Linked DNA regions of Homo sapiens: regions 2, 3 and 4 are each linked to region 1. The links are contacts of gene promoters, found by promoter capture Hi-C in human tissues and cell types (Jung and others, 2019). All regions are on one chromosome and are shown on one strand. The core of a region is centred on a gene start or on the middle of the fragment in contact, and the rest is flanking DNA. Distances in the headings are between cores, read along the strand shown. Region 1 holds the start of SPINT3 (serine peptidase inhibitor, Kunitz type 3). Region 2 overlaps RBPJL (recombination signal binding protein for immunoglobulin kappa J region like). Region 3 holds the start of SPINT4 (serine peptidase inhibitor, Kunitz type 4). Region 4 has its middle 9.6 kb from the start of WFDC11.

Evidence for each region. The method cuts DNA at HindIII sites, captures the fragments that hold promoters and counts their contacts. A contact is called where the count stands out against the background at its distance.
Region 2: a contact is called between a fragment that was not itself captured here and the fragment with the promoter of SPINT3 in region 1, in 4 of the 25 tissues and cell types used here (bladder, heart left ventricle, mesendoderm cells and 1 more).
Region 3: a contact is called between the fragment with the promoter of SPINT4 here and the fragment with the promoter of SPINT3 in region 1, in 2 of the 25 tissues and cell types used here (bladder and stomach).
Region 4: a contact is called between a fragment that was not itself captured here and the fragment with the promoter of SPINT3 in region 1, in 7 of the 25 tissues and cell types used here (adrenal gland, dorsolateral prefrontal cortex, mesenchymal stem cells and 4 more).

The regions. Positions count from the first base shown.
Region 1 is chr20:45,513,905-45,517,044 of GRCh38, forward strand. It overlaps SPINT3 (serine peptidase inhibitor, Kunitz type 3), which reads right to left and starts at 1,718. Exons shown (of 2, transcript NM_006652.2): 1 at 1,629-1,718. The coding sequence starts at 1,704. All of the region lies in intron 1 of LOC107987282 (a long non-coding RNA gene), which reads left to right. The HindIII fragment of the contact is 13,872 bases long and covers 1-3,140 here.
Region 2 is chr20:45,312,965-45,316,104 of GRCh38, forward strand. It overlaps RBPJL (recombination signal binding protein for immunoglobulin kappa J region like), which reads left to right. Exons shown (of 12, transcript NM_014276.4): 7 at 504-641; 8 at 1,071-1,180; 9 at 1,449-1,601. Among named protein-coding and RNA genes, the nearest start is that of MATN4, 6.2 kb to the left of the region's middle. The HindIII fragment of the contact is 3,231 bases long and covers 1-3,115 here.
Region 3 is chr20:45,720,926-45,724,065 of GRCh38, forward strand. It overlaps SPINT4 (serine peptidase inhibitor, Kunitz type 4), which reads left to right and starts at 1,422. Exons shown (of 3, transcript NM_178455.3): 1 at 1,422-1,557; 2 at 2,955-3,132. The coding sequence starts at 1,443. The HindIII fragment of the contact is 7,531 bases long and covers 1-3,140 here.
Region 4 is chr20:45,678,319-45,681,458 of GRCh38, forward strand. No RefSeq gene overlaps it. Among named protein-coding and RNA genes, the nearest start is that of WFDC11, 9.6 kb to the left of the region's middle. The HindIII fragment of the contact is 5,827 bases long and covers 1-3,140 here.

The sequences.
Region 1 (3,140 bases), core at 468-2,967:
TTGGTTGTTGTAAAATGAGTGAATGCACAGATGAATGATCACACCTATGGTGGAACTTCAGGCAGCAGCCTAGGGCTTGGAAAGGTTCAGACTCTGTCTTATCCTCCTACCTGCAAGGCTGACGCTAAGGGTGCAGGAGAATGGGGAAGAGGCAGAATAGCTTATTCAATCCAGGTGGGAGGTGGAGGGGCATGTTCTTAAGACATCCTAGTCACTGCATCATCGGCCCTTAGACCCTTACAGGTGACTCTGTAGGGGCTGGAGTCCCATCTGCTCTTAGTTTTCTCAGTCTTGCTTCTCTGCTCTTCCATTCCATTAAACCAAAGGAAAATCACTTGACTTGCTTCTTTTTTATGTAAAGTAGATAATGACACCCTGTGTGTGTGTTTTGAGTGTGACAGAAGCTGTTCTAAGTGCTTTACAAGAATCTATTAAGAGCTAAGTTATACTGAGAGCTTGACATACATCAGACTATTTGATTAATAAAGCAGAAAAGATGGTTAATCTTTTTTTATAGAAGAAGAAACTGATGCTCAGAGAGGCTATAAATGATGTTCCTGAGGCACAGAGTTTGTAAGTAGAGGAGCCTGGACCAGAACCCAGGTGTGTCTGACTCCAGGAATGCTCATACTGTAAACCACTACATTCTTCTTACTTATGGCAGACATTTTCAAACTTGAGTATGCGTCAGAATCATCTAGAAGGCTTGTTAGAGAGACCCACCTCCACAGTTTCTGATCAGGTGGGACTGGGAACTAGCATGTTTCCAGTTGATACTGCTGCTGCTATTGCTGTCAGACTAGGGGACAAACTCGAGAACCACTCATCTATAAGGTTATTGGGAGGTTTAGAGTTCCATTTATGTCTAAGAATCTATCATTAATAGCTCCATGTACATACATGCAGAGAACTATGCTTGCACATGCAAGAATGTTCACTGGCACATTGACAGTGATAATCTCCAGAGGGTAAGATTTTGATAATTTTTCACCTTCTTTCTTACCCTTTTGTGTATTCTAATATGCATTTTTATACAGGGCATCCTACTGGCTGCTTAAAAATCTTGGAAACTGCTGCCTACCATCCCCATTTCCAGCAGATTATCTTAGCTATAACTGCACTTCATCTCCCCACTTCCATTTGCAGATTCCAAGCTTCCACAGAGAAAGTGGTCCAGGAAGGAGCCTTTTCTGACAAGTGCATCTAACTTGGCTAAGTCCCTCACTCTCAAATTCTGGCTCTGATCTCCTTTTCCCAACCTCTCCTTGCCTGCCACCAGCCCCACCCCAGACATTGAAGGCCCCTTTTCCTGCTTTACTTATTTCATTTTCTATAGCACTTTGATCATCTATCATTTGTATTAGGTATTGTATGTCTCTCTCCCATTAGCATCTTAATTTCACAAAGGCAGGGTCTCAGGCTCTTTGCTTTAACCTCAGCACCTAGGACAGTGCCTGGCACATAACTATGTGCCCAACATATGTCTGATGAAGTGAATTGAACTGAATTGACTCTCAATCCGGTAAGGTAAGAAATGGGCTCTGTTTGTGCTGCATCACCTCCCCCACCACCCCGCCCCCCAGCCTGATTCCCAGTCTATTCTTTGAGATCCCACATTTCATACCAACCTCGTGCTAGTTCTGATCGAAGCTCTAGGCAGAGAGTGAGAATCAGGAGAAACGAGAGAGAGGCCTGAAGCTGCATGGTGCCACTCAGCCAGTGGCTCAGCCTGGGGTTGCCATTTTAGGGAGAAAAGGGACCAAGGGGAGGAGCCTGGCCCCACATCCAGCTCATTCACCTTTAACTCAGGCTTTTCATGGGGCTGGGCTGCCTCAGGAACAGAGTGTTCAGCCAAAGCACAGCTTCACCTCTCTCCTCCTGGCCTTATCTGATCTGGCCACCCAGGCTACTTTAGTACCACTTCAGGGTGGAAGCCTTTTTCACAATAATAAAAAGACAGCAGCCATTTTTGAGTACCTTTCCTTTTCCAGGCACCATGCAAAATAGTTTTCACACATTGCTTCCCTTAAGTCTACACGGGAATCCCACAACACTAACACTCCCATTTTGTAGATGAGAGGAGGTTATGCTACTTTGACCATTGTTACATGGACAGCAAGTTTCAGAGACAAGACTGAGACCCCGGTCTGTCTGCTTCAGTGCCCTCGTATCACTCATTCATTCAACAAACATTCATCAAGTACCCACACTGCACCAGGCAAAGTATTAGATGCTGCCTCCATCCCATCTGGGTGCTCCCAGGAAATTATGGCAACAACACACACAAACACATTGGAAGTCAGAAACAGTCACCTACTTGGAGGAGGAGCAGATTCATTATATTTTAATAGAAATATCAAAAGCACCATGTAGAAGGAGGGCCCAGCTTTGTTTGCTTCAGAGGGTCATGGTCTCTAGAGACACACCCCCAGAATCCAGCACATTCCAACTGTCTCCTTTCCTTGACTCTCTAGAGATCCATTTTTTTTGAAAGACAAAGCCAGCATGCTTTAGGGAGATTTAGTGAGCCTCAGATTTAAAATTTGAGGTTGTGATGGGTCCAGCTATTCTTTTTCAAGAAGCATTCTATCATATATTTATTATTATTTATTTTTAATTGAGAAATAAAAATTGTATAAAGGCAGTCCCCAATTTACAATGGTTTGACTTACAGTGTTTGACTTTATGATGGTGCAAACACAATGCACAGTCAGTAAAAACAGTACTTGGAATACCCATACAACCATTCTGTGTTCACTTTTAGAACAGTATTCAATAAATTACATTAGATATTCAACACTTCATTATAAAAGGGGCTTTGTGTTAGATGATTTTGCCCAACTGTAGACTAGTATAAGTGTTCTGAGCAAGTTTAAGGTAGGTAAGGCTAAGCTATGATGTTTGGTAGGTTAGGTGTATTAAATGCATTTCAACTTCTGATATCTTCAACTTAGGCTAGGTTTATTAGGCTATAATCTCATCATAAGTTGAGAAACATTATATATTTATGAGGTACAATATGATGTTTTGAAATATATGTGTGTATATATATATAGAGAGAGAGAGAAATTTTCTCTCTTAGCAATTTTCAAGTGTACAATATGTTATTAACTACGGTCACCATGCTGTGCAATAGGTCT
Region 2 (3,140 bases), core at 250-2,749, 200 kb before region 1:
ACCACGGCAGTCCAGCCTGGGTGACAGGGTGAGATGCTATCTCAAAAAAAAAAAAAAAAAGTTTTACTTTTGTTTGTTGAACTGAAAGATGTCCAGACAGCAAAGGAACAGGCAAAGGTTCCAAAGCAGGACTGCAGCAGGTCCTGGAAAAACAGCTGTGAACTGGGAATGCCCAGTGTATCTAGGCCTGTGGGCACATTAGCCAGGCCGGCACAGGGACAGAAGATTGGAAACTGTCTGGAAAGTCCAAGGAACCAAGCCAGGACAGGGCACTGATAGCACCAACTAACCTTAACCCTCACCCTGACCCCCTCCCTCACCCTAACCCTCACCCTAATCCTAATCCTTACCCTCACCCTCACTCTAACCCTCACCCTAATCCTAACCCTCACCCTCACCCTAACCCTCACCCTAACCCTAACCCCAATCCTAACCCTAACCCTATCCCCTCACCCTAACCCTGACCCTCACCCTCACCCTAACCCTGACCCTCACCCTCACAGTGTGCATATCCTCCGGCTCAAAGGTCTCCCTCTTCAACCGCCTGCGCTCTCAGACGGTCTCCACACGCTACCTCTCTGTGGAGGATGGGGCCTTTGTGGCCAGTGCACGACAGTGGGCTGCCTTCACGCTCCACCTGGGTAATGACATCTGCAGGCCCTGGAGCTGGGCACTTCACATGCATTAGCTTATTTAACCTCCACCACAACTCCTTAAGGAAGGTAAACTCTGCCCCATGTGATTAAGGCTCAGAAACACAAAAAGACTTGACTACAGTCCCAGTGAGCTGGTGACTGTTCCAAGCTATTCTGACTCCCTTATCCATGCCCTTTCCCCATATATCAACTAAGCTGCCTGCCCCCAACCCCTGCCCCCAGGGCAGACATTTGTGAGGATGGCCTCAAATGGCCTCTCCAGAATTAGAACCTTCAGTTGGCTCCCCTGAGTACCAAGCTTTCCCGCAGGGCCCATGTGTGATGTGAGGAAGAGCCAGAGGCAACAAGGCAGGGTTTAAGGCAGAAGCTTGGGGGCCGCTGAAAACCTTGTCCCTTGCTTTTTTTGTCCCCCAGCTGATGGGCACTCTGCCCAAGGAGACTTCCCACCGCGAGAGGGCTACGTTCGCTATGGCTCCCTGGTGCAGCTCGTCTGCACGGTCACCGGCATCACACTACCTCCCATGGTATAGGAAGGGAGGGCATGCCTGGAGGGGTCCCCTCAGATCCATGCAGAGAATGTGGCACACACGGGCAGGGCTGGAGAGTGAGGCCCCAAGGCATGGAGACACCTGTTCTCACCCAGTGTCGCGTAGGACCAGACAGAAGTCAAAGGGCAGGGGGAATCTGCTAGTGCCTGTGTGGCTATTGGAGTAGCAGACAGCCGGCTAGGAGGGCAGCCTCTGGACGCCCGGGCTCCTTGCCACCACTGTTCTTACCATCCTTCCATTGCAGATCATCCGTAAAGTAGCAAAACAGTGTGCGCTCCTTGATGTGGATGAGCCCATCTCCCAGCTGCACAAGTGTGCATTCCAGTTTCCAGGCAGTCCCCCAGGAGGGGGTGGCACCTACTTATGCCTTGCCACAGAGAAGGTGGTGCAATTTCAGGTAAGAAGCAGAGAATACCAGCACCAAGTGTCCTGGAAAGGGAGAATGCAGAGAACCACAGAATGTAAGATCATCACCCTCACCATGGTTGCTACTTCCTGAGCAGCCTCCCATGGAACATTAAAATCATAGACTCCCAGGACAGAATCATAGGATGTAGAAAAATAGTAATAAGTAATAGTATGAAGCAATATTCCTTCCCAAAGAATTTTAGAGTCATAAAATATTGGGATATAGCCAGGTGCGGTGGCTCATGCCTGTAATCCCAGCACTTTGCGAGGCTGAGGTGGGCAGAACACCTGAGGTCAGGAGTTCGAGACTAGACTGGCCAACATGGTGAAATCCCATCTCTACTAAAAATACAAAAATTAGCTGGGCATGGCAGTGGGCGCCTGTAATCTCAGCTACTCAGGAGGCTGAGGCAGGAGAATTGCTTGAACCTGAGAGGTGGAGGTTGCAGTGAGCCAGGATCACACCATTGCACTCCAGCCTGGGTGACAAGAGCAAGACTCCATCTCAAAAAAAGTAAGTAAATAAATTGGGATATAAAATTGTAGGATGTAAATAAAAATCATGATAGGTAATAGAGAGCAGAGAATTAATGAGCAAAGACTATTCGAAGCACAGATAAAGACACAGAATGTGGAAAATTATAGAATGTGGAAAATAATAATTATCGTTAAGCAGTAGTACTCCCAAAAGAATATTATCATAGAATGTTACGAGATAGAATTATAATATGTGGAAAATAGCAAGTATTATTCCTTCCCCAAGAATATTCCTTCCCAAAGAATATTAAAATTGTAGATTATTAGAGCATAGAATTGCACAATGTTAAAAAAAAAAAAATTCTGGAATCCCAAGAAAAAAGACCCTTAGAAATCAGCTATCCCAGGCCGGGCCAATGGCTCATGCCTGTAGTCACAATACTTTGGGAGGCTGAGGCAGGAGGATCACGAGGCCAGGAGTTTGAGACCAGCCTGGCCAACATGGTGAAACCCTGTCTCTACTAAAAATACAAAAAAATTATTTGGGCGTGGTGGCTGGCACCTGTAATCCCAGCTACCCGGGCGCCTGAGGCAGGAGAATCATTTGAACCCGGGAGGCGGAGGTTGCAATGAGCCAAGATCAGGCCATTGCACTCCAGCCTGGGCGACAGAGCGAGATTCAGTCTCAAAAAAAAAAAAAGGAAGAAAGGAAGGAAGGAAGGAAGAAGAGAGAAAGAGAGAGAGAGAAAGAAAAAGAAAGAAAGAAAGAAAAGAAAGAGAAAGAAAAGAAAAAGAGAAAGGGAAAGAAAGAAAAGGAAGGAAGGAAAGAAAGAAAAAGAAAGAAAGGAAAAAAGAGAGAGAAAGGGAAAGAAAAAGAAAAGGAAGGAAGGAAGGAAAATAAAGAAAAAAGAAAGAAGAAAGAAGAAAGAAGAAATCAGCTAGCTCAACAAGCTTTCTTAACGCTAAGTGAGAGAACTTAAGGGCACTGTCCAAGCTGAGGGGACAAGTGAACCCCAGAGCCTAGGATTAGTATCCAGTTCGGTCTAACGCA
Region 3 (3,140 bases), core at 172-2,671, 210 kb after region 1:
TGCATGAGAAATGTCATAAACCTTTCTTTAAAATATTAATGAAGGTCAAAATAGATGGAAATATATATATCAAAGACAATATTATAAGGATATCATTCTTTTCCAATTGATTTGTAGATCCAGTGCAATTCAAATGAATATCCAAAATAGGTGTTTTGTTTTTGTTTTTGTTTTTGTTTTCGTTTTCGGTCAGAGTCTTGCTCTGTCACCCAGGCTGGAGTGCAATGGCACAGTCTCAGCTCACTACAACCTCTGCCTCCCAGTTCAAGCAATTCTCATGCCGCAGCCTCCCAAGTAGCTGAGATTACAGGAACTCACCACCATAACCAGCTAATTTTTGTATTTTTAGTAGAGACGGGGTTTTGCCATGTTGACCAGGCTGGTCTCCAACTCCTGACCTCATGGGATTCACCCACCTCAGCCTCCCAAAGTGCTGGGATTACAGGCATGAGCCACCACGCCTGGCCCGAAACAGGTCTTTTGAATAACTTGATAAACTGACTAAAATTTATATGAAAATACAAAATCCTAAGATAAACAAAGTTCAAGAGATTAAGTGTGGCTTTGGAGTGGGGGTATACAGTGGAGTGAAATAAAGGGCTCAGAAGCAATCCCACATAATTAAGCAAAATTATTTTGCAGTTAAATAGAAGAGGAACTCATTAATAAATAGGTCTGGAACCACTGAAAAATGAAAAAGGATCCTTATGTTATACCTTACCAAAAAATCAACATCAGGTGGTTTTAGGGTGTAAAGGTAAGCCAAAACTTCAAAACTTTTAGGAGAAAACAGATCCAAGATGTCCTCATGTTCCTAGATAACATAGTGTAGTGTGACTAAGAACAAAAACTCTGAAGCCAAGTTCAAATCTTGTCTCTACCACATAATAAATGAGTGACCTTGTACATGTAACCTAATCTCTGTCTCCATTTCATCCTTAAATGATGGTAATAACTGTACTTACTTCATAGGGTGTATATGATGATAAAGTATATACAAATTACTTAAAAATAGCACCTGGAATTAAGTAGTACTCTAGGTTATAACTAACCCTGTTACTATTATTATAGTGCTATTGCACTCTTTCTCTTGTGCCATGATTAGTTTCTTCTGTGCATAAAAGGTCAAAAAGAGAAAGGAAGAAATCCCTTTTTAATTCCTCACTCTGATGATTCTACCCTTCATGATTAAATATATGCAGAAGCTCTGATCCTTAAGTTTCTATTGCTTCTAGATGAACATGGGACTCACTATCAAGGGTCTAATCAGTTTGGGGCCTTCAGCTTCATGGCTGGGTACCCAAGCACTCACTGTTCAACTCAACACCTAGTAATGTCCAGTCCTGGCCCTTGGGGTAGGTGAGCTCAACCGTCTCAAGTATCAAGCCCAAAATATAACATCAGGTGATACCACAACTATCCTGCCTGCTGCTTGCTGCACCATGAAGTCTGCCAAGCTGGGATTTCTTCTAAGATTCTTCATCTTCTGCTCATTGAATACCCTGTTATTGGGTGGTGTTAATAAAATTGCGGAGAAGATATGTGGAGACCTCAAAGGTATGAAGCTAAGGCAGAAAATAAATCCAAAGGTCAATTATGAATGAGAGAGAAGGTATTGGGAGAAAAGTGTGTTATCTAGGTAGTCCAGGAAGGTCTTCCTTTCATGACAATACCCATAGACACTTAGTCCCTTGACTCAGGGCATTACTTACACTAGGGGTCCTCTGGATGTTTGATGAGAAAAAACAGAAATGACACAAAGTCCTTTCCAGATGGAGACCTCTTTTATAGGAGGTCCAAAGGACTGGAAGTATTTTGAATCAGAGGTTGTGTGACAAATTTCAAAGATCCCAGACCATTGATGATTATGTATTGGGATGAGAGAGAAAGGGGGTTGGAGACAGAGCAAATTAAGACATTTTCAGTATCTGGGCTATGGACATATACAGAACTCTTGGACAGATGATTCCTGTTTAGAGGAGCTCACAATGTAAATGTGAGAGGCAATGAGACTTTCTTCCATAGATAGTGTGTGAAGGCTCAGCGCTTCCAGGGGACGAGAAAGTAGCACAGTTTATACCGTAAGTCAGACACTTCAAGTTCTGGACCTGTTCACTTAGCAGATATGTGCCCTTGGACAAGTCACTCAACCACTTATTATTCTCTTAGTCTCAGTTTCCCCATGTGTAAAATGAAGATCAGAAAAGTGCCTGCTGCAGAGGGTGTTTGTGAGTATGAAATAAGATTATGCACATAACTTTACCAGAGAGTAAATTCCAGGCTGGCTGCTTGAGTAAGGTGGATTGTCAATACAACCATGATTGTGGCTGTTCCAACCACTTACTACCCAACTCTTAACAATAAAAACAGAGGGTTTGCCTCTGAGAAGGCAAGAAAGGAGAAGATGACGGGGTATGAGGATGAACGAGCATCACCCCAAGGTTATGCATTTTAGCATTTTAGTATGCATCCTGCTTTAAAGATAGCAGCAGCCATGGTTACTTAAATTTTGAAGTATAGGTAGTATAGTGAATGTATGAAACTGGGGAGGAGGCACTCTGAATTGCATGTCCTATGTGGGCAATTAAAAGGAAAGGAAGATGATGTGGGGAAGCAGGAGGATACTGTACTTTAATAAACTGTAAGATAGGAAATGTAGGGAAGCTCATCGCCCTGCACAAGCTAGTGGTGGAACCTCCTTTTTCACTGATCACTACTTCTCCTTCTCCAATACACTGCTCACGACAACAACCTGGAATTTTAACCAATTTGCATTGTGCAAGGGCAACATTTCCAAGCAACTCTAACTCCAAGAGAAAACCACATCTTTCAGAGTCCTTGAATATGAGAATAGTTCCAGGCTAAACGTAGGAATTTTTAAGGGCCCATAAAGACAAGTTCTCCTGCTGAGTCCTTACCAATTCCCACTAACTCAATGGGAACCTCTCATGCAGATCCCTGCAAATTGGACATGAATTTTGGAAGCTGCTATGAAGTTCACTTTAGATATTTCTACAACAGAACCTCCAAAAGATGTGAAACTTTTGTCTTCTCCGGCTGTAATGGCAACCTTAACAACTTCAAGCTTAAAATAGAACGTGAAGTAGCCTGTGTTGCAAAATACAAACCACCGTAAGGAA
Region 4 (3,140 bases), core at 386-2,885, 160 kb after region 1:
GCGACTGCCAACTCTTCCAGCTTTTGCAGGTGCTCTTTCATGGTGTTAGACCTTTACTTCTTAGTATTAGAACTTAAACACTGGCCTGTTGTTGCTTTACACTGTAGAGAGGGCTTAATAGTGAGCATCAGAACTAAAACATTGCACTGGACCTAACTCATTGCCCTGTCATTGTTTCCCAGTGTAAGGAAAACTTATAGTGAGCACCACAGCTTAAATGCCCTGGAACAATATTGCTGCCCTACTATTGTTTCTCAGTGTGGGAAAAACTTAGGTGGGTACTGAAAATCTTGACCTTTTAGTTGTTTCTGGGCCAGGGAAAAGCTTCACATGTGCACCTGGGCTTTGTGGATTTGGGCCTTCCCATAAATTTTGTCCCCTACAATACTCTGGCCCCCCCACCAGTCTCTTCAATATGGCATCCCCACTGATCAAAGCACTGAACAATCACCAAGATCCACATGCCAGTTGCTGCAATCAGTGACCTACTCTTTGTCCCCAATTCACCCCAGGTTTTTCAGCCCTCTTGGTTCTCTAGTGGGATGAAACTGGAGTGGACTTACCATTAAGATTCCTAGACAAGTGGGAAGATCAAATATCCACCTCCAATTCCTTCTTCTCATCTCAGCAACTGTGGGTCTAGGGAAGTTCTCTGTGAGTGGTATTATTATGGCCTGGGAGAGAGGGTGGAACAGGCTGAAATGACCATTTCTCTTACCTGTCACTGCTTCTCTCAATTCTATGAGCCCAGGGGGTTTCTCTGCTTCTCAAGTTCTGGTGTATTCAGGGTGGCATTCTTGTCTTTGAATAGTTTTTCATTTTATTTTTGTGTCAGGAAGTGATCCCAGGAGATCTATTCTGCCATCTTGCTGACATCACTTCCCAGTTTAGTCCTGAGGTATCAGGGATGGATTAAGAAGCACATGGCTTTCCCCATCCTGGGAAAATTCTCCAGGACAGGGCAAACCAGCTCTTGCACCAGAGACATATCCACAGAGTAGCCTTTCTTGTATTGTCACTCTCTGCAGCTCATATCCTTGTGCTGGGCTGTGAGGCAGGCACTAAGGACACTCTTTAGGTAACAGTGGAACGCAGAACAAAGAGAAGTCAAGCTAGCCTCAGAGAAGAGAAAATTTGTCTTAAGTTTTTGATATCACAATCTGCATCTTTTTATAATTTGTATCCCTTGACAAATTATTGTAGGTTTCATTGTTTTTAATAGCTTTGCCTTTTAATGTTATTAAAGATATAATTTATTTACCCACTGACATTACAGTATCAGAGTATTTTGGATTTCACAATGTATTTACTTTTATCAGTGAATGTTATACTTTCATATGTTTTCCAGTCACTAATTAGTGTCCTCTTCTTCAGCTTGAAGAACTCTCTTTAGCACTTCTTGTAAGGCAAGTCTAGTAGTAATAAACTCTCTCAGCTTCTGTTTGTCTGAGAAAGTCTTTATCACCCCTTCATTTTTGAAAGAAAAGATTTCTGGGTATAGTATTCTTGGTTGACAGGGTTGTTTTATTCAGGATTTTTAATATAACATCCCACCCCCTTCTGGCCTACAAAGTTTCTGCTGAGAAATCTGCTGATAATCTAAGGGAGGGTTCTCTTGTGTGTAGCAATTCACTATTTCCTCACTGTTTTTAAAACTTTCTCTGTCTTTTTGCATGTATGGCAGGGGGAGGGTGGTGAGTATTCTGGTTTCTTCCATCCTATGGTGAAGGTGAATGCCAGTATTTATCTCTCCCTCTCTCTGCACTAAGCTGGAGAGATAATCTGTGACAAATGCCTATACTTGTGTCCAAACTGCACCCTCTGATCCTGGTGAGATAGCTGCTTGATATGGTTAGAATCTGTGTCCCCATCCAAATCTCATGTCAAGTTGTAATCCCCAATGTTGGCGGTGGACCTGGTGAGAGGTGATTGGATCACGGGGGTAAATCCTTCATGAATGGTTTAACATCATCTCTTTGGTGCTGTTCTCATGATAGTGAGTGAGATGTGGTTGTTTAAAAGTATATAGTACATCCCTCACCCCGCTCCTCCTCCAGCCATGTGAAGATGCCTGCTCTGGCTTTGTCTTCTGCCATGAGTAAAAGCTCCTGAGGCCTCCTCAGAAGCAGATAGTGCCATGCTTCCTGTATAGCCCATAGAACCATGAGCCAATTAAACCTCTTTTCTTTATAAATTATGCAATCTTGAGTATTTATTTATAGCAATGAGAGAATGGACTAATACATGCTGAAAGTGGGCCCGTTGTATGCCCATGTCTTTGTTTTCTGTAGTCCCAGGCCGCTTAGGAATGCAAAGTCTCATTGGGAATGCAAAGCCCCATTAGTCCCCAGAGCTAGGTTGATAAGGAGACAGTCCCTTGGGTGGAAACTATAGAAGCTTAGGTACTCAGTACACGGACAAACTCCTTCCAGGAAGAATGGGTCGACTGGATTTATCACTGGGATGAGCCAAAGGAAAGGCTCAGAAAGTGCTCAGCTCAAGCTCAGGATGACAGGGAGCTACTTTCTCCCCTTAGGTCCTCAATGCAAATTCATTAAAAGCAAGGTCATCAAGTAGCCACCAATAGAGTAAGCAGGAAACCCCTTGCAAAGAGAAAATGGGAGCTCAGCATTCTAGTCCCTTTTCTACACTGCTCCCAGGAGATGTAGACCCTGGCAGTGTTATTATGTCCATTTAAAACCACCTTTTTGGCTGGGTGCAATGGCTCAGCCTGTAATCCCAGTACTTTGGGAGGCTGAAGTGGGTGGGTCACTTGAGGTCAGGAGTTCAAGACCAGCCTGGCCAACATGGTGAAACGCTGTCTCCACTAAAAATACAGAACATTAGCCAGATGTGGTGGTGCATGCCTGTAGTCCCAGCTACTTGGGAGGCTGAGACAGGAGAACCGCTTGAACCCGGGAGGTGGAGGTTGCAGTGAGCCAAGATTATGCCATTGCACTCCAGTCTGGGTGGCAGAGTGAGACTCTGTTTAAAAAACAAACAAACAAACAAAAAAACCTTTTTGTATGTGATCTGGGAAGACTTGAGTATGCATAGTTTCAGGTGGTAGCTGCTGTAAAAGTTGGGCCACTCAATGCATGGCATAAACCCCTTACAGGGAGTAACAGGGAGCTGCATTT